5 separate regions of the Homo sapiens genome follow, and regions 1, 2, 4 and 5 are each linked to region 3. Evidence: promoter capture Hi-C in 16 types of primary human blood cells and fetal thymus (Javierre and others, 2016). All regions are on one chromosome and are shown on one strand. Each heading gives the region's core, a stretch centred on a gene start or on the middle of the fragment in contact. The rest is flanking DNA. Distances are from core to core; before and after follow the strand shown.

Region 1 (5,052 bases), core at 1,985-4,484, 3.3 Mb after region 3:
TCCAAGGAAATAGCTAAAATGCAGCACATAAAAAGAAAACAAAACACAAACAAGGAGATGGAAATGAAAAGGTAAAAGACAAAGAAGAGAGAATGAAATGATCTGATAGATGTCTACTTGGAATTCCTGACGAGTACAGAGAAGGAGTATTTGAAGACAAACTGGCCAAATCCATTTTCGAGCTGATGAGGCACAAATCCAAAAAGCAGCACAACATATACCCACCTAACTAATAAAAAATCACACAAAATACATTGTCGTATTAAACAAGAGGAAACCAAAGTCAAAGAGATGATCTCAAGAACAACCAGAGACAGAAGACAGATCTCCTATAAAGTGACTGCACCTATGCTGACAACAGTCTTGGCCAGGTGCAGTGTGGCTCACACCTGTAATCCAAGCACTCTGGGAGGCTGAGGCGGGTGGATCACTTGATGTCAGGAGTTCGAGACTAGCCTGACCAACATGGTGAAACCCCATCTCTACTAAAAATACAAAAAATAGCCAGGCATGGTGGTGCATGCCCATAATCCCAGCTACTTGAAAGGCTGAGGCAGGAGAATCACTTGAACCAGTGAGGCAGAGGCTACAGTAAGCCAAGATCATGCCACTGCACTCCAGCCTGGGCGACAAGAGTGAAACGCCACCTCAAAAAAAAAAAAAAAAGTCTCAAGAATAGTGCAAAGGCAAGGCAGAAGACAATGGAGCACCATCTTCAGAAGGAGCTGAAAGAAATTAACCAATTAACTGGTTTTATTTGAAATACTATTCTCTTTCAAAAAATGATGGCAAAATAAAGACATGTCCAGATAATAATAATTAAAAAAAAAAAACCTAGAAACTTTTCCATCCATAGTCCCTCACTAAAGAAATCTCTAAAGGATACACTTAAGAAAAAAAAAAATCCCAGAAGGAAGTTCTGAGATAGAAGATGGACGATCTGATTGAAGAAACTATGAAGTCAGAGGTGAATCTAAAGAAAGGTTGTATAAAATAATAATGTTCTATTTGATGAGGGATTTTTTCATGGGCAATAAGAAAGCAGTAGCATGTGAGTTCAGGAATGCACCAGGGTTCAAGGAATGTAAAATCTTTACATTGTCAGAAGTGCCATTAAATACTGACTATCTTTAGACATCATGTATGCATAGCTGCAAAATTAGCCACTTAAAGACTAGAAATAGCATACAACTTCTAAACCCAATCAGTGAGGTTTTAATATGGTTTTACTGTAATTTGTGGCAGAGGACAGTTCAACAAAAATAATGTCAAAGTGGTCCGTGGAGGGCAGCCACAGATAAGTCTTAGTTCAAAGGTCTCGATGCAGTTTTTAATACTTGCTTTGGGTCCTATATCCCTCTGAGAATCAGATGAAAGCTCTTGATTCTCTCCCTCTGAAATATGCTCATATGTACTTGTTTAAATTTTCATAAAATTCTATTTGAGGTTATAATTGGATTTAAAGTCATATCTAGACTCATAATAGGCCCTCCCCAGACTTCCTAGAGAACGTGAACCCCAAAACCTTGCCCAGCTTAAAAGGCTGAAGAGAATTAAGTTTGTGTGGGAAACAGTGAAATTCTCCATTCTAGAGTTGAAACCATGTAAGCAGATGAGGAACTAAGAGTAAAAAGAACAGCAAGAGGCATAATGCTTAGGGGAGGAGGAACCTCGAGGTAAGTAAGGAGTCAGGAATGGAGATTCATTCCTGTAATTCACTCTTCCATTAAAGTAACTCAACAATTATGCAACGATTGCAGTATTTTGAGCTGTGGAAAATAATGACCAGAAAATGAATCTGAGCTTTAAAGCACTTACATTCTGGTGGACAAACATGCCAGGCAATAAAGACAGAAAACAGAAATTACAACGCCCTTAGCTAACTACCTGATGTTTTTAATATTCCCTTCCTGGAATTACTCAGTTAACAACCAGCAGTGGTCAAGGAGCCTGCAGAAAGAACCAGTCTGGTCCACCGAGAGCTCCTCTTCCGCCAGGCAGATCCCCAACCCACCCCCACCCACCTCCACGCAGAGCCTAAGGGTCTGAAACACAGAAGGGCGTATCCAGAGGCTCCTAAATCCACCTGCATTCCAAAAAGAAGCTTCTCGGAACATAAGATTCCTGTCTCCATCCAAACATTGAAAATTATAATCTCGTGGTTTGGGTTCAAGAATCTGAATTGAAAAAAGACCCCAGGCTGGTCCTGTTCCACCTAGGAGTGCTCACAATATAAAAACTATCACTCCTTATTTACAAAAGAATTCATTTGAGGCCTGGCTTTGTGAATCACAGTTATCCAAAACTGTGAACCAGAACAATGCGAAGAAAGTGTTGCCTACATACCATGAAAATATTCTCCGTGGTTAAAATCATTATAGAGCACGAGGGAACAGTCTATGATTCTTAGATATCACAGCAAGAATGAAAAAAACGCTATTCTGGTACACAGGAATTGAAAGTAGTTCAAAGGAAGAGCACATGAGAGGTCTCCACACTGCTGCTGGGGCAAATGAATAAATAATATTCTCAGCAACTCACAGGAAAAAGAGCATTTAAGATAGGCTATTATTGTCAAAACACACATGCATGTTTGACCTCACTGCCTCACTATCAACTCCTGAAGTCAAATGAACTCTTTTTCTTTACTAATTTTGGTGATTCCAATCTTTTCAGACAGCTACACCATATACAACATACGCTGACCTAGCTTGGCCAACATCCATGAAAGGTGTCCTGGTCTCTGTGACTTCCATTTGAACTACAGATTGAGACTTTATTCACAACTGCTTTTGGTCAATGTAAGTAAAAGCCTTGTGGTGCACAGGAGAGAGCAGGAATCTTATCGCAAAGTAGGAAGAAAGATTCAAAAGACCTACCTTCCCCTGCAAATCCTGATCATCCTGTCAAACTAATCAACTTTAAAACAATTTTTTACACACCAGATACGATTTCATTCTTAAAAGCTTACTTCCATTTTTGAAAATGAAAACATAAATATTCTCTCAGAAGGTCAAGACTAATCATTGAGAGCTTACTGAAATTTGAATTAACTATTACAGGAGTTCTCAAGGGAATAACTCCACATCTACTGAGGAAAAAAGGAATTATTAAGACATACAAATAAAGAGAATACTTATTCCATTTTACTACAGCATACGTTCCTTATTCAGTCCCACGTGAACAAAGTCTCATGGTGGTTACTTGACTGCTAAATAAATTAAGGTCCTCTTGACCTCACAGCTTTCTCTGGTGATATAATCAGTTTATAGAATACTTTCAAATCCTAAATCTTGAGGAAGGGAAAACAGGTTTGGTTTCATGGTTTGAGAGTTGGATGGGTTTTTTTTCCTCTTTAAAAATGGAAAACGTTTTGTAGAATTGCTTTTACACGCTAATGCCATTTAAGCCTCAATTATTTGGTTATCATCCTCCTATTTTACTGATGAGAAAGTTTAGGATAGTTAAGACAAGTACAAGATGAGTTACTTAACAAGCTTCTAAGAACAAGGGAAGGCCGGGTGCAGTGACTCATGCCTGTAATCCCAGCACTTTGGGAGGCCAAGGTGGGCGGATCACTTGAGACCAGGAGTTTGAGACCAGCCTGGCCCACAAGGTGAAACCCTGTCTCTACTAAAAATACAAAACATTAGCCGGGGCGGGGGCGGGGGCGGGGGGGGGGGGGCGTAGGCGGGGGTGGTGCACGTCTGTAATCCCAGCCACTCAGGAGGCTGAGGCATGAGAATAGCTTTGAACCCGGGAGGCAGAGGTTGTAGTGAGCTGACAACATGAAGCCACTGCACATCAGCCTGGGAGATAGAGCAAGACTCTTGAAAAAAAAAAAGAGAAAGAAAGAAAGGAAAGGAAGGAGGAAAGGAGGGAGGATTACCACCCAGATCTTCCAGCTCTAAGTCTAGAGCTGGGATGAAAGTTAGAAATACCGTCTAACTTCCATACATCCCCAACCCTTGAGTAAACCCAGATTCCTAAACAGACTATGACAGTTGATCACCTACAGCAGGGCTTAACAAACAACAACCTACAGGGCAAAGCCAGCCCACTGCCTATTTTTGTGGAACCTACAAGTTAGGAATCATTTTTACATTTGTAAGTGATTGGAAAAAAAACACAAATGTGTATTTCATGACACATAAAATGATATGAAATATACTAAGTGAATTTTACTATCCATAAGCAGTTTGAGACACAGCGCACATTCATATAGGAGTCTACGACTGCTTTTGCACTACATGAGGTGAGCTGAGTGGTTGCAACAAAGACCATAATATAACCCACAAGTCTAAAATATGTATTATCTGGCCCTTTACATTAGAAGCGTGATGTAAAGGACGCTTGTCTTTTTGTGAAAACTATGAAGTTCTAACCTACGCCGCATCAAAAATCCGTTTTTCCTCAATCCTAGCAGCTGGAAAAGTAGGGAGTAAATCTATTCCATCCTTCAACTAATAGTAACTCTTCAAATTTTGCAAGGTTCATGCTCTACCCATCTTTTCCAGGATCTGTTCCTTTATTTTTTGTTCACAAAGCCTAGTTTCAATAGCCATTTAAACATTTACTAAAGACCTATTACTACATACCAGGTTCCATGCTAAGTATTGGAGACATTTCTTTTAGGCGAGAAAACCAAGGCTCAGCAGTTGGGTAACTCACCCAAGTTCCCAGTTACTGCAGACCTGTCCTCCTACCAGACCATGTGAGTTCAAAGAAGCAAGACTTCACATTTCCTCCTGTCAATATATCCCTCTAGATTTGTGGAGCCTGAGGCCAAACAGAAAACTTCTATTTCAGTTTAGGCAGAACTGGACAAAACAAGGCAACTAACAACCCTTGACTTGGCCACAAAACATCATCTTAGTGTCTTTCCCAGCCTTGTCAGACTATCGCGTTCATTTACAATTGCGTATCACTTCTGCCCTACAGATAATACTGCCTTTATGAAAACAATACAACTCTATACCTTTAGAAACAAAACCAGGTTTCAGGGAGGCATTTTAAGCCAGTTACCATACAATCATCATCACTTACTGGGTG
Region 2 (4,548 bases), core at 917-3,416, 3.1 Mb after region 3:
TTTGTCAGGACTGTGAAAGTTCTGAGATTTCCTCATACTTGCAGGCTAACTAGGTAGCCTGCTACAGTCTCAGGGATGCTGGCAGAAGACACATAAGCCCTGGGTCAGAGACACAGGACTTAATTCCTCAGAGGAATGGTAGTAGCCAAAATGTATTAGTCAGGGTTCTCCAGAGAGAAAGGACCAATAGGATGGATGGATGGATGGATGGATGGATGAGAGGAGATTTATTAGGGAAATTGATCATGCAGTTATGGAGGCTGAGGAGTCCCACGACAGGCTGTCTGCAAGTGGGAGACCCAGGGATGCTGGTAGCCTGGCTCAGTCCAAATATGAAGGCCTGAGAATCAGGAAAGAAGATGGTATAATTCTCAGTCCAAGGCCAAAGCCTGACAACCTGTGGATCTGCTGGTGCAAGCCCCAGAGTCCAAAGGCTAGAGAACCTGGAGTTCTGCTGTCCAAGGGCAGGGGAAGAAGGGAGTCCCAGCTCCAAGGGACAGCGAATTCACTGTTCCTCTGACGTTTTGTTCTACCTGGGGCCCTAGCCGGGTAGATGGTGCCACCCACAGTGAGGGCAGATCTTCCCACTCAGTTTACCCACTCACCTGCCAGTCTCCTCCAGAAACACCCTCACAGACACACCTAGAAATAATGCTTTACCAGCCATCTAGATGACCCTTCATCCAGTCAGGTTGACACCTAAAATTAACCATCACACCGAATATCACCATTTGCACCAGTTCACCAAGTCCCATTTCCAGAGTGACACCAAGCGATGCTGGCACATGCAGTAGGTTGCATTACAGGAGAGGAACCTGGAGTTTAAGAACTCCAGTCCTTTGTAAGGGACAGTAAGCCTGCTGATATCTGCCCGGAGAGAGGGAGGGTGACATTATTTCTATTATACTGGACAGTAAGCAAGCCTGCCCTTTGCCGTGGAGGGAGTACTATCTCTGTCTTCCAAGGCCGTTGGCTACACAAACATCCCTGAAAAGATACGCTGGATTTTATTGGGTTTTCAAAGTCAAGCTGGGATGAGGTTCAATCACCATTCAGTTTCTCTTCTTTTTCTTTAATAGAGGTTGTGCAGATAAGCTCCTTCTCTCTGGAGTTCACTAATATTATTCATACATCAGGAATGCTTTTGGTTTTAAGTGTGAAGTTGAAATTTTTTTATTAGCACAAACAGTGAAACTAGTTTGGGTCTGATCAGAAACTGTTGTGCTTTTCCAGGAAAAGTGTGAAAAACGATGAACGTTTACAGAACTTGAGCAAAAGGAGCTGAAAGCAGCTTTAAATGATTTTAATTTGAATGCAGCTCTGCACAGCTTCCATCTTACTCAATCTTACCGCTCAGATGGGAATGGGTGGGTTCAGGTATTCACTAAACTTGCTTACGATGGTCAGATGGATTCAAATGGCCTTGTGTGGTGTGTTTTTAAGGTTCAGAAGAATCGACAATGATGTCATATTTTTCCAAGTACCAAATTCAGGAGCATCAGCCAAAAGTAGCACTGAGCACGTTGAGAGATCTCCAGTGCCCAGTGCTGCAGAGCAGCGAGCTGGAGGGAACGCCAGAGGTGTCCTGCCGGGCTCTGGAGCTCTTCGACTGGCTCGGCGCCGTCTTCAGTAATGTCGACCTGTGGGTATCTGAACTCCCTGTGTCTTCCAGGGCTCTGGCCTGCTGCTTGTTTTTAATAGGAGTTTAATACTTTGGAAGTGATCATGTGATGGATATACATGTGTTATCTCTCTCTCTTTTATTTTTTTGGTGACAGAAATAATGAGCCTAATAATTTCATATCAACCTATTGCTGTCCTGAGCCAAGCACAGTGGTGGCAAAAGCTTATTTGTGTACAATCACTGGCTTCATACTTCCAGAGAAGATCTGTCTCCTATTGGAACATCTCTGGTGAGAACTCTTTACCTTTTATATCGCTCATCAGTGCTCTATAGAACAGTATGTCGAATAGTATAGATTTTTTCATTTTGGGAGGTGGTATATAAATAAAATGTACATTGAAAGGAACTCAAATCGCCTATTGCAAAGACCGTACATTGAGTATAATCCTATTTAGTAAGCATATCTTCTCAGTCTTCCCTTTTGAAATGTCAGATTTAAGTCTTGAAGGTTTTCCTTTTTAAGCCCAACATCCTTTTTCACATTTATTGGTTTAGTACTTTGACTTTCTTCGATAGGAAGGCTGGATATGAAAAATCTGGTGAATTATCCTGCAACGTTTCAGTTAACTGAGACTCTGAGAACAGTACTCTTAATAGGAGGGAAAGGATCCTTAAACGCCTGTGGGGTTTTTTGTTTTGGGTTCTTTTTGTCTTAAAGACCTCCCAGAATGAGGGTGGGAACAGCTGAGGTTTGTTTCATGTGTTGTATATTAGTTAATCCTTATGGAGTTCACAGTGTGACATCAGGAACTTATCACACACCTCTTGATTTTCAAAAATTAAAGCTAAGATCTAAGCTTTATTAGAATATCAGAAATACTACTTATCCTGAATAAATTTTTTAAAATGCAGACATTCCTAACTCTCTTTTAAAACTCTGTTTAACAACTACCTTTTTTTCAGTCACTACTTTGATGAACCGAAGTTAGCTCCATGGGTTACACTGTCCGTTCAAGGCTTTGCAGACAGCCCTGTTTCTTGGGAAAAAAATGAACATGGTTTTCGAAAAGGAGGAGAACATTTATATAACTTTGTGATTTTTAATAATCAGGACTATTGGCTTCAGATGGCTGTTGGGGCAAATGATCACTGTCCACCATAAAAAATAAAAATTAAAAATCGTGTTTACTTACATTTACGCTTGCTTTCAGATTTCTTAATGGTAAAAGGTCTGTGTGTCCACTCAGGCTTGTGTGATGGTGACATTTCTCAGATCAGCATTTGCTGGCATCCTGCCCTGCACCTGAGACCCATCTGTGATGGCAGCAAGGCCTGCTGTCCAGTGAATAGCTCATAGTTGATTTCTCTCTGTCAACATAAGCACAGGGTTGTGGGTTACTATGTGGTACACTGGGCCAGGATGTCCAGGGACCGGGGATATTGGTCCCCATCTCACTCCATTGGTTGAGATATATTTTGTTCATTACAACTTTTTCAGATAATAAAAAGAAATCTCATCCTTACCAGGGCCAGTCCCTGTTGTAAGTGCTGTTTATATATTACCATGTTAGAATCTCACACCAACCCTTTGAGGAAACTGAGGCACAGTGTGTAAATACACTACCGAAGTTATAGTGGCAGTGGACCTGAGACTTGATCTCAGGCCAGCCTAGTTCCTAAGTGTGTTCTCACGCTAATGCCTCTGGATCAGAGAGGGATCAATGGATACTGTAAATCGTTACAGAACAGGTTGAAAGAATTTTATTTCCAGCAGTAAGGCTGATAAGGACCAGTTGAAAACAACTAAAACTTTAGAATACATATGAAGAACCATTTTTTTTTTATTATACTTTAAGTTTTAGGGTACATGTGCACAACGTGCAGGTTAGTTACATATGTATACATGTGCCATGTTGGTGTGCTGCATCCATTAACTCATCATTTAACATTAGGTATATCTCCTAATGCTCTCCCTCCCCCCTCCCCCCACCCCACAACAGGCCCCGGTGTGTGATGTTCCCCTTCCTGTGTCCATGTGTTCTCATTGTTCAATTCCCACCTATGAGTGAAAACATGCGGTGTTTGGTTTTTTGTCTGAAGAACCATTTTTTTAATGTAAAAAACAAGAGCTGCAAAATAAGAGTTCTTAAAGGGAAAAAAAAATTTTTTTTTTTGTAAATGGAAGCAGAAACCCAAAGAAGTAAGTGGAGTACTGACGCCACTTTTCCGCCTTAGTGCATCTGCCAAATGCCAAATTGAAGTTTTCTTCTCATAGCCTGGGGTGGGAAGGGGCTGCAGAACAGCACACAAAGCTCAGGGCCTGCCCAAGGGAGGAAAACTAACAGGAGACCTCATAAAGTGAGACTCCAAAAGGATAGATGCAATGTAGGGGTAAACTAGGAATAAATCCATCTGCTTCACCCATCCCCCCAACCCCTGTGAACAGCAAGGAAGATTTCTGTCCTGGGGGAAAACATCTTACTTGAGAGCCTATATATAACCACAGGATTTATATATAACAGCAGTTTTTAGGGTGGCTTGTTTGCACCACCTGGATAGTCTTAAAAAATCTCAAGAGGGAAATTTCAAGTGATAACAGGATTTTACTGCCTTACAGGTAACTGGCAGAAGCAAAACAGATTGTCTTTGGAGGAACTCGGAGAGTTTCAAGGAATGTAAGTTCATAGAAAAAAATCACAAGTGTAAAATAGACAAGAACCAGCAGAAACAAGGGGCAGAAGCAGGCCGTTAAGTCTCAGAAAGACTTAAGATGTTAAAGTTAGCAAGCACATCCATAAAGTATGCTTTATGCTTACAGAAATAAGGAGGGTTAAATGGCATGAGTATAAGAACAACGAAGCAGATTGTAAAAAGTGCCAAACAAATCTAGGAATGAAAAATATAATTGAAATTGCAAATTCCAC
Region 3 (4,751 bases), core at 150-2,649:
GTTCCCAGGCCACCTGCACTTCTGACCAGCTGTCTCTGTCATATGCCCAGGGCCTGAGCACTGTCTGCTAGGGTGCCTCAGTTCTCACCCACGCAGCTTCTCTCTACACATGATGTTTCATTGCTATTCGCTTTACTCCCTCAGGTTTCACAGAATGACTCATAGAACTCAAGAAAGTGCTTTCCTTGCTATTACAGTTTTATTATAAAGGACACATATCAGGACCAGCCAAATGAAGAGATGTATAGGGCGAGATGTGGGAGATTTCCCAAATAGAAGCTTACGTGTCCTCAGGAACGCTTCCCCCTCCTGACACTTTGATGAATGATTATCGACCAGTAAGCTCACCTGAGCTTCCACATCCAGAGTACTCACTGGGGTTCCATTATGTAGGCATAGTTGGTTAAATCACTGGCCACATGGCTGAACTCAGTCTCCAGCCCCAATCTGCTCCCCAGAGGTGGGCCTGCTTATGTGACTCAAAGCCTAAGCCCTCATGGTTGGCCGGCCCTTCTGGTGTGGCCAGCCTCCATTCTGAAATCATCTTGGGCCCTCCATGAGCCATCTCATTAGCATAAACTCAGGTGTATTTCCAGAGGCCCACCATGAATAACAAAGACACTTCTATCACTTGGGAAATTCTAAGGATTGAGGGTACCTCCCAGGAACCAGAGTCAAAGTCCAGTCAAATTCTTTATTATACAACGTGAGTTTACTGACTTGAACAGAAAGAGGGAGCAAGAGAAGCATTCTAGGAAACAGGTGTCTAAAAAGAAAGGCAGGAATAGTCAGCCACACTCATGGCATAGTAGGGAAACAGCCCCCAGCTAATTGGCTTTGCTATACAGTAGTCCCCCCTTATCTGAGGTTTCACTTTCTGTGGTTTCATTACCCGCAGGACGGTACAATAAGATATTTTGGGAGAGAGACTACATTCACATAACTTTTATTAAATTGTTCTAATTGTTCATCTCTTACTGTGCCTAATTTATAAACTTTATCATATGTATATACAGGAAAAAACATAGTATATACATGGTTCAGTACTATATGCAGTTTCAGGAATCTACTGGGGGTCTTGGAATGTATTCTCAGCAGATATGGGAGGACAACTGTACTGGAATGCACCAGCTTTGAGCCAAATAACCAGGGCTCTGAGTTTAGCTCCAAAGTTCAAGCACCTTCCTATTCTAGCAGCATCCGCCCTGATCCAGCATGGCGGCAAGAGCTTCTGCCAGTTCACAGCCTGACTACACGGCAGGCGCCTTTCCGGAACCGCCCGCTGGGTAGATTAAATTTCTCCGGCGCCCTGTAATGACACACACACAAAAAAAACCCGGGCGCGCCTTGTAAGAGGGCGGCCGGGTTTGCGCAGGCGCAGCGTGGCCGCGGGTGGGCGGAACTGGTCGGGATGAGTGGCGGAGGGACAGAGACCCCTGTGGGTTGTGAGGCCGCCCCGGGCGGTGGCAGCAAGAAGAGGGACTCCCTGGGGACTGCGGGCTCAGCGCACCTCATTATCAAGGGTACGGAGTGTCAGGGCTATAGTTCCTGGTGGATCCCAGCACAGCCTCATCTCCCAGGCGGCGCCCTCTGACCCGGGCCGACCCCCGGGTCCCGGGCTGGCGCGCGTGCGTTTGTGCGGGTGGGGGAGTCGTGGTCGGTCCCCGCCTTTTTCCCCGCGCCAAATGCGTCCCACCACAACCAACCAGCCCAACTCTTCGTGTTTCCCCGCTTTCCTCTGTCGCAGCCTGAGCCATCAGGCCCGCCCCCGTCCATTCCGCAAGCTCAGGACCCCTGGGCGCAGAGCCTTTGGGCAGCCTCGCCACCGACGTGTAGTGGAAAGGGCATTGGACCTGGGAGGCGGGAGGCAGTCGCTTAGGAGTTGAGTGACTTCGGGTCACTGGCTTTACTCACTCTCCTACCCGATCTGTTCCTGGTCGTGCGAGGAGTAAGTGAGATACACTTACGAAGGCGCTCTATAGCACTGTAAAGAACCATTCACGTTCAGAAATGTCCATGTGTTCTGTGTGCTTTGAGCTGGGAGAAGGTTACAACCTAGATTCTCACAGAATCTGCTTTAGGTTTGACTCCTAAAGCTCACAACGCTGTTTGCTGCGTGAAAGTCTTTGACAGTTGAGTTGTAGTGCTTTATATATACCAGATATAAAGTGCTTATATACAGTGCTTGTATTATTTTTTCTACTTGACATGCTTAAGAAGATATGTACTAATAAAATTCATTAAAATAGAGAATTGAAACCTGCCCATCGTATGTCTGCAAAAATGAAAAATTTGGGGAACATTGCCAGTGAATGAATATGAATAATACATTGTCTTAGATTTAATTTCTCAAGGAATTTTGAGACTTACATTTTAAACTACATAGTTGTAACTAAGAAGAATAATAAACTGACTCACCAAAAGACTTAAATTCAGACCTTTTCTTAATGACTTTTTCAGACTTATGAAAAAGAGACTTACAATGAACATTCACCACCCACCTTAATAAATAAATTACTAAAAGCCCCACTGTGTCTTGCTCTAATTGCACTAGTTCCCCTCCCTCGTCTCAAGGTAGCCACTATCCAGAATTTGGTGTTTATTATTCTTGTGCATTTCTTTATAGTTTTGTTGCTTCTGTCTATATCCCAAAAGGAAATATTTTGAATATTTTAAAGTTTTATGTAAATTGCTTTAATCCTTCTGAAACTTGCTTTTTTATTATATTTATTATAAAATACGTATTATTTTTTATATTTATGTTGATAAGTGTAACTCTGATGTATTTATTTTTACTTGGTGATTGATAGAATTCCATTGTATGAGTATGGTTAAGGTGTTTTGCGTTTTTTCTTTTGATATTACACCTATGCTGTAATAAATATGTATAAATGGCCTTACTCATTTGTGCAAGAGTTTTCCAGGGTACATACCTAGGCATGAAAATGCTAGGTATACATGTCTGCAACTTTATTGAATACTGAAAGATTGTTCTCAAAAGTAGTTGTATCAGTGTACACATCCACTGGCAGTGGATGAGATTTCTTCTTAGTCCATAGTCTAAACTGGATTTTAACCTTCATCTCTTAGTGGGGAAGGGAGAGAGTAAAACAAGCTAGAGATTATGCCATTTAGCATGGATTAACCCTGAATTTCATTTTATCTTTATAGATCTTGGAGAAATTCATTCAAGGCTTTTGGATCACAGACCAGTTATTCAAGGTGAAACTCGTTATTTTGTAAAAGAATTTGAAGTGAGTATTTAAACTTATTTTATAAAAGTACTTCCCTAATTGTTAGTGTGTTATTATACAGAAGAGAAATTCCCCAGTTTTAAAATCGGATTTTAGTTCATGTGTTCATAAAATATACAAAGTAAAAATGATGAAGACGTAAAAATTGTTGTTTTTAATGGGATAAGTTCCATACTAAACAGCAGGATACATAAGTTCTGGTGCCTGCTCTAGGGTATTTAATGTCTGTTGATCTGAGGTTTTTTTAATCTATAAAATGAGATATAGTGGGGGAAAAAAAGGGATTTTAGAGATTGATGGGTCTGAGTTTTTCAGACTCATTTTCTGTAATTTTTTCCTCAATTGAGACATCACCAATTATGCAAGCAGTCAAATTAAAACTTAAGGATTATCCTTGGCTATTTCCTTTCTTACAGGTTCCACATTCAGTGACCCCATCTTTTAGACGTTACCTAGATGTTTACCTCATAAATGTCGATTCTTTCTGACAGGTTTGCCTGCTTTATCAACGAAGTCAAATCCAGTTTTCACCCTGCTGCCAGAGGAATCTAACATTATTTCACTTTTTAAAACCTTTGATACTATTTCTGTCCACAGGATAAAGTCCAAGCATTGTTCTGTGACCTGGCTCCTGCTTTTCTAGCATAACCACCTGCTACTCTACCTTACATACTATGTTCCAGCGACAGTGATGCATGAACATGCCATCTTGTTTCCTATTACTGTAGTTTTGTACATGTATAATTGGTTTATTGTGCTTTAAGCAGTAACTTCTCAAACTGCTGTTGGGATGGTAAATGGTGTTGCACAAACAATTTTGTGATTCTGTGTAAGTTTCAGATTTTTGCAAATGATACTGACCAGTCAGGATGTGCAAACATGCCAAAAGGAGAGTACCTTTTAATAAACCCAGTTGAGGGCTTATTAAAGATAGAGGCCCAGAGCTGTTGCATTAGATAAGCATTTCTGGGTGCAAAAGATGCTGTGACTCATAAACTGCATCATACTTCCCAGGATCTGTGCATTTTAGAATATTGTCTGGGACCTAGGAATTAACTAGGTACATAGCCAAGTTAATTATACATGTTAAGTAACATGTGTAATTGGTTCAGTTAACATGTTAATTAGCGTGTGTAATTGGTTTAGTTAACATCTTAACGTGTATAATAGGTTCATTGTTCGTTAAGCAGTAAGTTCCCACAATCTGATTATACCACATCGTCATCATTTAAAAAAAATTTTTAAGTCTTTTTTATCTTTTTGATATTTTATTTATTTATTTGTCATCATTATTTATTATTCTTATTAGGAATAAGAATAATGTGGGAGACACAGAAAATTATCCAGAGACTATTCCTTTACCGTGCTGTGTAAAGATGGTTACCAATTCCTTAGTAAGAAGAAAGTGGAGGCCAGGCGAGGTGGCTCAATTTATCCCAGCACTTTGGGAGGCCGAGGTGGGCAGATCACTTGAGGTCAGGAGTTTGAGACCAGCCT
Region 4 (5,062 bases), core at 1,235-3,734, 3.5 Mb before region 3:
GCAGCCGGCAGGTGCAGCCCCCGACAGGGCCCAGCTCATCGCCGCCGGAGGACGGAGACGCGGGACCAGCCAGAGGCTGCGGCGGCACCTGCCGCCCGCCTGCCCGCCCTCGGGTCGCCGACACTCGAGGAACCGCCCCCTCCACCCGCAGCCGCCGGCGGGCCACTCGTGCACGCGCACGCGCGCGCCTCTCAGCGCCGGCCCCTCCTCCCCTGCGCTCCCCGGAGCCGCTGCGCATGCTCACTCCCCCGCTCCCCGCGACCCGCCGCCCTCCAACAGCCGGTCGGCCCCAAAGCCCTCCTTCTCGCTCTCCCCTCGCGCTGCAGCGCGCGTGGCTGACGGCGCCGAGCGACGGCCCGCAGTGGGGCGGAGGGAAGCGCGGTCTACGTCACTGGCGCCACCGCCGGGCCTTACTGCTGATTGGGCGCTCCAAGGGAACCGCCTCCACGCCCCCCACCCCCGGACCCCGGGCGCGCGCCCTGAGAGACCGGGAGACCTGGATCCCTCGCCCTGGCCCGGCTGGGTGCGCGCGGTGCGGGCGGCGTGGGCGGTGCGGGCATTTCGGGGGCCCGCGCTGCAGGGGCAGCCCTGACCCAAGGTGGGGCTGCTGAACTCGGTGAGGTGGATACTGTGACAGTTCAGATTTTTGCCTTAAAATGTAATGCTTTTTGATAAAGATGCTTATGTATAACTTTTTTAAAAAGGTGTCACTATCTCAGCATTTAGATATATTAATTTGCGGGGTTTTTTTTCTGAGCCTGAATCGAATGACCTGGATAGGTCACTTACTTGCAGAATGCATGTTAAAACCCCTAAAACACAAACAGACCTGCGTTATCATTCTGCTAATCCCTCTTCCCGCAGCAAGAACTTGGGCCTCCCGGGGTTCCAGGACCTGCCTGACATTACCTGTTTACTCCAGGCTCGGCAGGTGTCCTAATCCTCAAGGCCATCGCCGGCTCTAGCCCCCCTTTTTTTGATGGTAGTATTCTTTTATCTAAGTTGCGTCTGTTATTTTTTTCCCTCGAACTTAAACTAGATCTCTCTCCCCACGCTTTGCTGTCTGTCTTCATGTCCAGCGTTAGCCAGAGGAGCATCTAAAATCCAACTACAAGTTAAACTCCTCGAAATTGGAAACCTTCTAACTTTAAAAAATAAAAATTTAAGTTTTAGCAGTAACATAAATATGCAGTAGCCAGCCCCTCCCCCCACCTTTTTTCAACCCCTCTGCCATCTGGATAAAGAAAAATTTACAAAGAGAAGTGAAGAAATACCTGCTGTAGCTAAATCATGAAGTATATTTGACAAAGCACTGAAGGGTCAAATTACCTGTCAAATGGTGCTCTTGGTGACCACTTTAAAATAATATTTACATACACATTTATTTCTTTGTTTATTTGTATTTTCTTTTTGATGTCACAACATAAGAGAAATTTTTGCACCATTAATAGGAATTGAGCCAAAACTCTTAATGTAGAGTTTATCTTCCTCCTAGAATTTAGACTTAATTAGATCTATTAACAAGATTACAGAATATCAAACCTAAAAGAGCGCTTTAACATTTTTCTAATTTTATTTTACAGATAGGGAAACAGATTCTGTGAATTAAGTGACTTGACAGAGATGACAGCACTTCACAGCTCAGTTTCTGAATTCCTGGTCTATTATTCTTTCTAGCAACCACATTATCTTTCTTAACCCACTGTTAACTCCCTCACTTTAAGATTCTTGATGGGGAAGTGCAGGTTACCTAATGATATTCTTAAGGGACTTGGCATTACATAATTAGTGATGTTAGGGAATGTGACCACATTCAGTGAAGGGTTCACAGCAAACTCCCTGAGCAGGGGCTCATTAAACTCTCATATCAGAAACCTTTAGTTAGTTTACGTTCTTAGGATTGCACACTATTATTTAAAACACAGTAGCACGCAGTGAAAATATTCAGAACCTGGGACAGTGCCTGGCACCTGCACCACAAATATTTGTTGAATGAATCACTGAATGATCTTCATAGAAAAGTCAGCATTGTTCTTGTTCTGAATAAATATTTTTTACAGAATCCAAGTGTTCATGTCAGGAAATGAGAAAGACACAGCAATGAAGTCTCAAGTCAGTAATGTTATTTGCTGCCCAACAACTTCACCCCTGCTGTTCAGTTCAATTTAATTGGCGTCTATATTTATTTGGCATCTACTATCTGTAATGTTCTGTGCAAGGTGTTATCTGTAACATTTGAAGATAAGATCTCTACTCTCTAGGCTACTTAGGTTTTCCTTGATAAAAGTAATGATCTTGACTGTGTTGGAAGCTTATATCCTTAAGAGAATTAGACATTTTCCCAACAGCCAGAGTTATGAAACCCAAAACTGAGTTAATACAAATGAAAGTTTTGGAATTTCTTTCCTACAGATTTTTTATTTTGAATTAATACACCAATTCAGGAAGAGTTTAGTCACGTTCCTGTCAGAAATCAGGGACCACCCCAAGTGAATCCAAAAATTTCCTTTCAACTCTGTGCCCTTCAGCATGAAACAATTCACAAACGTAATTCATAAACCAAAATTCCTGGTTTATTTCTCTCATGTAAGTGAGGGAACACCCATTAGCCTTAGTCATTTTTAAAACTGTCCAGAGACAACCTAGAGGAAAGCTTTTTAAAATCAATTAAAATATAAAATGATATTGATCTTTTGAGAAAAACATTTTCAGGTATCTTTTCAGAAGCACCCCACTCTACTGGTATCAACTTAACGTATTAGTCCATTTTCACGCTGCAGATAAAGACATACCCAAAACTGGGCAATTTATAAAGGAAGAGGTTTAATTGGACTTACAGTTCCATGTGACTGGGGAAGCCTCACAATCATGGTGGAAGGCAAGGAGGAGCAAGTCCCGTCTTACATGGGTGGCAGCAGGCAACGAGAGAATGAGGAAGACGCAAAAGTGGAGACCCTTGATAAAACCATACAGAGCCAAATTATATCATTCCTCCCCTGGTCCCTGCCAACTCTCATGTCCTCACATTTCAAAATCAATCATGCCTTCCCAACAGTTCCCCAAGGTCTTAACTCATTTCAGCATCAACTCAATAGTCCACAGTCCAAAGTCTCATCTGAAACAAGGCTAGTCCCTTCCGCCTATAAGCCTGTAAAATCAAAAGCAAGTTAGTTACTTCCTAGATACAATGGGGGTACACGCATTGGATAAATACAGCCATTCCGAATGGGAGACATTGGCCACAACAAAGGAGCTACAGGCCCCATGCAAGTCCAAAATCTAGACTGATTCAGCTTGATTCAGCTCAGTCCAGCTCCACAGGTCTTCTCATTTCATACCTGAGGCTGAGGAAGATGTCACGCTCTGAGTACATGCCATTCTCATGGTATAGGGCTGGAACCAGGGCTACAATGGGACACTGGCCTTGCCTGCAAAGCCTTGCCTGCAAGTCTTGACAACAGACTCTGAAACACTCTGTTATCAAGATAAATAATATACTAATATAATATTTTTAAAAATAAAAATTCATGCAAAAATCCATGATTAATGAAATACCAAAATTTTAAATAAACACAGAATCTCACCCTGCACTTGCAAGACCTTGTCTCACCCACCTCATCCTTATCCCAGCTCTGGCATGGACAAGAGAGGCAGGGCTAAACTACACAGGTGCATTTAAAGTTCATGCTCAGATATGGGGTCCATGTCACATGCATGTCACATATCCACATTCCCTTGTTTGAAGCAGATTGCATAGTTAAGCCCCTAAGTGAATGGGATAAAAAAGTATATTCTGCCTACAGAGAAGGATGGAAAGAATGAATGGGAGGGGGCAACAAATGGTAATGAACAAATAATGCAGTCTTAACACAGGCTGAGTGAGGTTAAGTCTTCTACAAATAATATATTTCAGCCTATATTTCTGTGTACTTTTTGTAGTTTGCGCTTTACGAATTTTGATTCTATGTGTTTTAGTGAACACATATGTATGTAAGATTTGTGATTTTGCTTTCTTAAATTAAAAATATATTAATTTCCATTATAAAATGCTTTTAAAATTTATGTGAATCTTGTCTGATGTTAAGGTCTTAAGTCCTGCTTTCTGTTTGCATTTGCCTGATATGTATTTTTCCATTCTTTTTCAACTTTGAATAATTTTGTTTTAGGAGTTTGACATCGTATTCCAATATGAAATTTCTAATTTAATAGAAGAACTTCTAGATAATTTCTAGTCGTTGATATAATAAATATGTGGTATTACTTGCATCATAGTTATATTATTATTTCTATTTTTGTTGCTTCTTTTAAAAAAGTATTTCATGGGTATGGTTTGTGTTTCCTTTGCTTTGTTTATGTTCCTTATAATTTGAAAGGATTGGTTTTGTTTTTGTATTTTATAGTAATCTCTGTGACCATAACTGATATACACTTCATCCTCTGTTTAGAATGTATCTAGTGACCATCCACTCTCAGCAATCCTAAAATCATATAACTCCACTTCCTTATAACCTCCTTTTCCTCCCCTTCTCCATCAGATTTAAGAGTATATATTTTTTTCTATTTCTTACTTCTACAGCTAAACTACCTAAGTTTTAATCCTGATTTTATTGCTTTACCAGGAGTGAACATTCAACATTCAGTGAGTTACTTAACCTCTGTAACTTTCAGTTTTCTCCTCTGTAAAATTTGAACTATAATATTCTATTATATGTATAATATATCTGTTATTCATTATAGATAGTATATATTTAATTATAATATTTCCTTGAGATATTCTGAGGATCAAAGTACTTAGTAATTAAGTGCTTAGAGTGGAGTCTGGAGCAGTAAATACTCAATGAATACTAGTTTTTATTACTGTAATATTTAAATATTAATAGATTTTTTAGAACTGTATGGAAATGGCAATCTTCTAAATAATTATTTATTTTAAAGAACAAGCAGAAAGAAATTGTGAAGGATTTTCTTGATGGGCAAGAATCTACCTCTTTCCCACCTTTTTTTTTTTTTAGTGTGATGAATTCATATGACTCAAAACTCTCATGATATGACGTGCAATCAG
Region 5 (5,189 bases), core at 1,479-3,978, 3.0 Mb before region 3:
GGGGAAGGAGGGGAAAAGCAATCCATTTGAACACGTGGGAAATACCACTGATGAGTGTAAGAGATTGTGGAACATCTGGTAGGGGGCACATAACAATGTACCAAAGTAGGCCAGGCACCGTGGCTCATGCCTATAATCCCAGTACTTTGGGAGGCCGAGGCAGGTGGATCACGAGGTCAGCAGATCGAGACCATCCTGGCTAACACGGTGAAACCTCATCTCCACTAAAAGTACAAAAAATTAGCTGGGCATGGTGGCAGGCACCTGTAGTCCCAGCTACTCGGGAGGCTGAGGCAGGAGAATCGCTTGAATCCAGGAGGTGGAGGCTGCAGTGAGCCGAGATCACGCCACTGGACTCCAGCCTGGGCAACAGAGTGAGACTCCCTCTCAAAAAAAACAAAAACAAAAACAAAAACAAAAAAACAATGTACCAAAGTAATACTAGGTAAGCTAAAAAGGCAATTATGTATTAACTTCAAAAAATTGAAGAACCATGTAAAAATGAAAGTGTGGTCATATTACACTATTTAACCAGCAGAGAATAATGTTTACAGAGTCAAAATATAAATCCACACTATTAAGTCAGCTAAATGTATTATCAATGGCAAGCAGAGAAAGAAATGGATGGAGCATCTACCACGGTTAATAATGTCTAAAAATATATAGTGGCTATTTAGGTCTGTAAAGCTTATGATGCTTCTCTACCTCTACCCTCACCACTAGGAGAACTGGAGTAACAGAATTGAAATAAACTCTTATCTGTTGTATTGAGATCTCCATTGGGCATATCAGGTGTTTCATTTGTAGGAGCTTGGGTATTCTGCAGCATTCATCTATTCATTTGTTGAACAAATGTTTATTGAGTGTCTACTATGTGCCAGACACTTCTGTAGGTGTCAGGGATATAGTAGTGAAGAAAACAAAATGCCTGCCCTCATTGGGCCTTACCCTCTAGTGTGGGAGACAGATGATGGACAAGTAAAACATGTAGTATGGGCCAGGCACGGTGGGTCACACCTGTAATCCCAGCACTTTGGGAGGCTGAGGCGGGTGGATCACGAGGTCAGGAGATTGAGACCATCCTGGCCAACATGGTGAAACCCCATCGCTACTAAAAATACAAAAACCAGCCGGGTGTGGTGGCGGGCGCCTATAATCTCAGCTACTCGGGAGGCTGAAGCAGAAGAATCCCTTGAACCCAGGAGGTGGAGGTTGCAGTGAGCCGAGATCGCGCCAATGTACTCCAGCCTGGCGACAGAGCTAGACTCCGTCTCAAAAAAAAAAAGTCTGATGCATTGAGCCTGGGTCTCAGGAGAGACATAAGAGTTAGAGAAACAAATTTTTGAGTCATTAGCTAGAGCAGACATTTAAATCTCTAGGACTGGATAGGAGACCTTGGGGAGTAAAAGAAAAGGGAAATGTATTTGCAGTATATTATAGAAACATAATAGAAAAAAATAGAATCTTCTCATACAGTAAGGGCAAGTAGGCAAGTACTAGTCCATAAACATTTTATTTCAGAGATCGATGATAAGTAAATAGATGTATTAATGGACTAACACATGTAATCTGTACACTTATGAACATATTAGGAATAATCTATTTTCTATTGTAGGTTGTGGTCAAAAAAAGAAAATTCTAGGGAATGAGAAGAAGCTAAGAAAAAATAATAGCCACTGTGGTAGGAAGAACATCATGGAAATACAGTATATAAAAGCCAAAGAAATGTTGAATGGACCCGGCATGGTGGCTCATGCCTGTAGTCCCAGCACCCTGGGAGCCCGGGGCAAGTGGATCACCTGAGGTCAGGAGTTCAAGACAAGCCTGGCCAACATGGTGAAACCCCGTCACTACTAAAAATACAAAAAATTAGCTGGGCATGGTGGCTGACACCTGTAATCTCAGCTACTCAGGAGGCTGAGGCAGGAGAATCACTTAGACCCAGGAGTAGAAGTTGCAGTGAACCAAGATTGCACCACTGTACTCCAGCCTGGGCAACAAGAGCAAAACTCCATCTCAAAAAAAGTAAATAAAAGAAACGTTAAATGTTTCTAGCAGACATCACTTAACTGTAAGGAATGAATATGACAATTTAAGCTCAGTTAGGACTAAGAAGCGACCACCACAGGCTGGGTAATATGGAGGCCATCTGTTACTGACTTTGACAACAGCAGCATCACTGAATAGTGGGGGTAGAAAACACCTTGGAATGAATGAGAGGTGAGAAAGCAGAGACAACCAATGTAGACAGAAGGGAAACCTGCCTAGGAATCTGAACTTTGGACATCAGAATTCACTAGGTGAAGGAGTCTGTCAGAGCTCTAGAGAAAACTACATAAATTCCTAGGGACAGGAACTGTGTTCCCAGTTCCTGGTAGACACTCAATATTCAGTTTGTTGAACTGAATGAAATAAGAAAACAGGAGACCCAGCCCAAAGAGCAGAGCCTCTTGATCTGAACTCCATGTTTGTATTCAAGGAAGAGGAGTCCATGAAATCTCAGAAATTGGGTGGGGGGGCGGCGAGCAGGGAGCAGATAAGTTATGTGGGTGAATTTTTCTTTTTTAAAAAAAAAGAAAGGTTCACAGCATTTACCAGACTCTCAAAAGGGCTTGTGACCGCTAGAAGGGTAAAAACAACTGTTTTATGGGCATACAGCTACTCCCTAGCTTTCAGCCAGTGCTAAAGACATGGTGCTTGTTATAGAGTGAATCGTGTGCCATCCAAATTCATATGTTGAAATCCTAACCCCCAGTGTGACTGTACGGTATTTGGAGATAAGGTTTTTTTTTTTTTTTTGAAACGGAGTTTCACTCTTGTCACCCAGGCTGGAGTGCTATGGTGCAATGTCGGCTCACTGCAACCTCCACCTACTGGGTTCAAGCAGTTCTCCTGCCTCAACCTCCTGAGCAGCTGGGATTACAAGCATGTGCCATCATGCCCGGCAAATTTTTGGTATTCTTTTTTTTTTTTTAGCACAGACGGGGATTCGCCATGTTGGCCAGGCTGGTCTCGAACTCCTGATCTCAGGTGATCTGCCTGCCTCTGCCTTCCAAAGGGCTGGGATTACAGGCATGGGCCGCCATGCCCGGCCTGCAGATAAAGATTTTTAAAGAGGTAATTAAGGTTAAATAAAGTCATAGGGTGAGGAGCCATAATCCAGCGACTGATGTCCTTATAAAGAGATTAGAACACACAAAGGAGAGACTATGTGAAGACATAAGGAGAAGACCACCATCTACAAGCCAAGGAGAGAAGCCTCAGGAGAAAATCAACCCTGCTGATCTCTGACTTTTAGCTTCCAGAGCTGTAAAAAAATAAATGCGTTTGGCTGGGCATGGGTGGCTCATGCCTGTAATCCCAGCACTTTGGGAGGTCGAGGTGGGCAGATCACCTGAGGTCGGGAGCTCGAGATCAGCCTGACCAACATGGAGAAACCGCATCTCTACTAAAAATACAAAATTAGCCAGGCACTGGGGACGGGCACTGTGGCTCACGCCTGTAATCCCAGCACTTTGGGAAGCCGAGGCGGGTGGATCACCTGAGGTTGGGAGTTCGAGACCAACCTGGCCAACATGGAGAAACCCCATCTCTATTAAAAACAGAAAATCAGCTAGGCGCATGCCTGTGATCCCAGCTACTCAGGAGGCTGAGGCAGAAGAATTGCTTGAACCCGGGTGGCAGAGGTTGCGGTGAGCCGAGATCACGCCATTGCACTCCAGCCTGGGCAACGAGAGTGAAACTCCAACTCAAAAAAAGAAAAAAGAAAAAAAAAAGCAAAACAAAGAAAAGAAATGAGTTGTTTAAGCCACCCACCAGTCTCTGGTATTTTGTCATGGCAGCCCTGGCAAACTAATATCGCACTCCAATTTCTCTCTTAAGTCTGGTCTGATCCTTGCCTCCTCTCCCCAAGTTCCCGCCCCATCCTAGTCAAAAGATGAGGCTACTCCATCATCAGTTCTCCCAACAACAACAAAAAAAGTATTGATCACTTCATCATAGAGCTTTTAGTTCTTGACTATTCCAAAAACTAAGGTGTCCTAGCACAGGGCTCTCCAGCCCTAGCACACAGATCCCTCCTCCCTGCAGGAGGCAAGTATTACCATCTGAGCTCCGCCTCCTGTCTGATCAGCGACATACCAGATTCTCATAGGAGCACAAACCCTATTGTGAAATGCACATAGGAGGGATCTAGGTTGCTCGCTCCTTATGAGAATCTAACTAATGCCTGATGATCTGAGCTGGAATAATTTTATCCCAAAACCATCCCTGCTCCGTCTGTGGAAAAATTGTTCTCCACAAAACAAGTCCCTGGTACCAAAAAGGTTGGGGACTGCTGTCCTAGCACACCTCATCTCTCTTATTCCTTAATGTTTCTGAAACTAAAAGCACTTTTAGAAAAATGTGTATAATTAAACCATCAAACAGCTGTTTAGAGATGAGAGAGCAATTTGGATTTCTGAAGCCATAAAGGTAAATTTGGCAAATATCCTAGTGAAGGTATGGTAGGGTCTACGTGTCACATTCATTCCCATGTCCAGGTAGCTCGCATTTTCAAACTAGAAAGGGTAATAAATGCTTTCCCTCCTTCCCCACATCCAAACATATCACAAGGATTTTGTTTTCCTTACTTCAAGAACCTTAAACATCTACAATTAGTTCAATATTCTAATATTCTTCTGCTTGTTGATATCACAAGCAGAAAATTGAGAAAGGTTATTCAATTGCTTTATCTCATCAGAAAAGAAAGGCTGTAAATTAGAAGCTTTAACCTGGTGTTACAGAAAAGCACAACAAATTTTAAACATACATACAAGGCCGGATGCAGTGACTCATGCCTGTAATCCCAGCACTTTGGGAGGCCAAGGCGGGTAGATCACATGAGGTCAGGAGTTCAAGACCAGCCTGACCAACACGGTTAAACCCCATCTCTACTAAAAATACAAAAATTAGCTGGGCATGGTGGCGGGCACCTGTAATCCCGGCTACAGCTACTCGAGAGTCTGAGGCAGGAGAATCACTTAAACCCAGGAGGCAGAGGTTGCAGTGGGCCAAGATCAGGCCACTGCATTGCACTCCTGCCTGGGCAACAAGAGCGAGACTCCATCTCAAAAAATAAAATAAACATATAAGTTTATAAATACATACACATGCATATGCACAAGTGCACACATATATTCCACAGCGTC

Evidence for each region. Contacts are between HindIII fragments. The CHiCAGO score rates a contact against its expected background, and 5 or more counts as called.
Region 1: a fragment that was not itself captured here is called in contact with the fragment with the promoter of BLOC1S5 in region 3 in 4 of 17 cell types (activated CD4 T cells, naive CD4 T cells, total CD4 T cells and 1 more); the score reaches 8.2 in activated CD4 T cells.
Region 2: a contact is called between a fragment that was not itself captured here and the fragment with the promoter of BLOC1S5 in region 3, in 2 of 17 cell types (activated CD4 T cells and total CD4 T cells). The highest score is 6.7, in activated CD4 T cells.
Region 4: a contact is called between a fragment that was not itself captured here and the fragment with the promoter of BLOC1S5 in region 3, in 1 of 17 cell types (naive CD8 T cells). The highest score is 7.6, in naive CD8 T cells.
Region 5: a contact is called between a fragment that was not itself captured here and the fragment with the promoter of BLOC1S5 in region 3, in 5 of 17 cell types (naive CD4 T cells, total CD4 T cells, naive CD8 T cells and 2 more). The highest score is 9.0, in naive CD4 T cells.

Annotation. Positions count from the first base shown.
Region 1 is chr6:4,779,032-4,784,083 of GRCh38, reverse strand. All of the region lies in intron 1 of CDYL (chromodomain Y like), which reads right to left. Among named protein-coding and RNA genes, the nearest start is that of CDYL, 5.2 kb to the right of the region's middle. The HindIII fragment of the contact is 531 bases long and covers 2,969-3,499 here.
Region 2 is chr6:4,993,316-4,997,863 of GRCh38, reverse strand. It overlaps RPP40 (ribonuclease P/MRP subunit p40), which reads left to right. Exons shown (of 8, transcript NM_006638.4): 6 at 1,444-1,642; 7 at 1,779-1,913; 8 at 2,588-3,147. The coding sequence ends at 2,786. Among named protein-coding and RNA genes, the nearest start is that of LYRM4-AS1, 8.2 kb to the left of the region's middle. The HindIII fragment of the contact is 635 bases long and covers 1,849-2,483 here.
Region 3 is chr6:8,061,037-8,065,787 of GRCh38, reverse strand. BLOC1S5 (biogenesis of lysosomal organelles complex 1 subunit 5) reads left to right here and starts at 1,399. Exons shown (of 5, transcript NM_201280.3): 1 at 1,399-1,523; 2 at 3,172-3,254. The coding sequence starts at 1,412. It overlaps BLOC1S5-TXNDC5 (BLOC1S5-TXNDC5 readthrough (NMD candidate)), which reads left to right and starts at 1,374. Exons shown (of 13, transcript NR_037616.1): 1 at 1,374-1,523; 2 at 3,172-3,254. EEF1E1-BLOC1S5 (EEF1E1-BLOC1S5 readthrough (NMD candidate)) reads left to right here. Exons shown (of 7, transcript NR_037618.1): 4 at 3,172-3,254. RefSeq lists enhancers at 1-75, 1,766-1,955, 1,565-2,191. The HindIII fragment of the contact is 8,031 bases long and covers 282-4,751 here.
Region 4 is chr6:11,532,817-11,537,878 of GRCh38, reverse strand. TMEM170B (transmembrane protein 170B) reads right to left here and starts at 130. Exons shown (of 3, transcript NM_001100829.3): 1 at 1-130. RefSeq lists a silencer at 1-666. The HindIII fragment of the contact is 342 bases long and covers 2,314-2,655 here.
Region 5 is chr6:11,095,279-11,100,467 of GRCh38, reverse strand. All of the region lies in intron 1 of SMIM13 (small integral membrane protein 13), which reads right to left. Among named protein-coding and RNA genes, the nearest start is that of SMIM13, 4.0 kb to the right of the region's middle. RefSeq lists a silencer at 4,008-4,087. The HindIII fragment of the contact is 4,078 bases long and covers 690-4,767 here.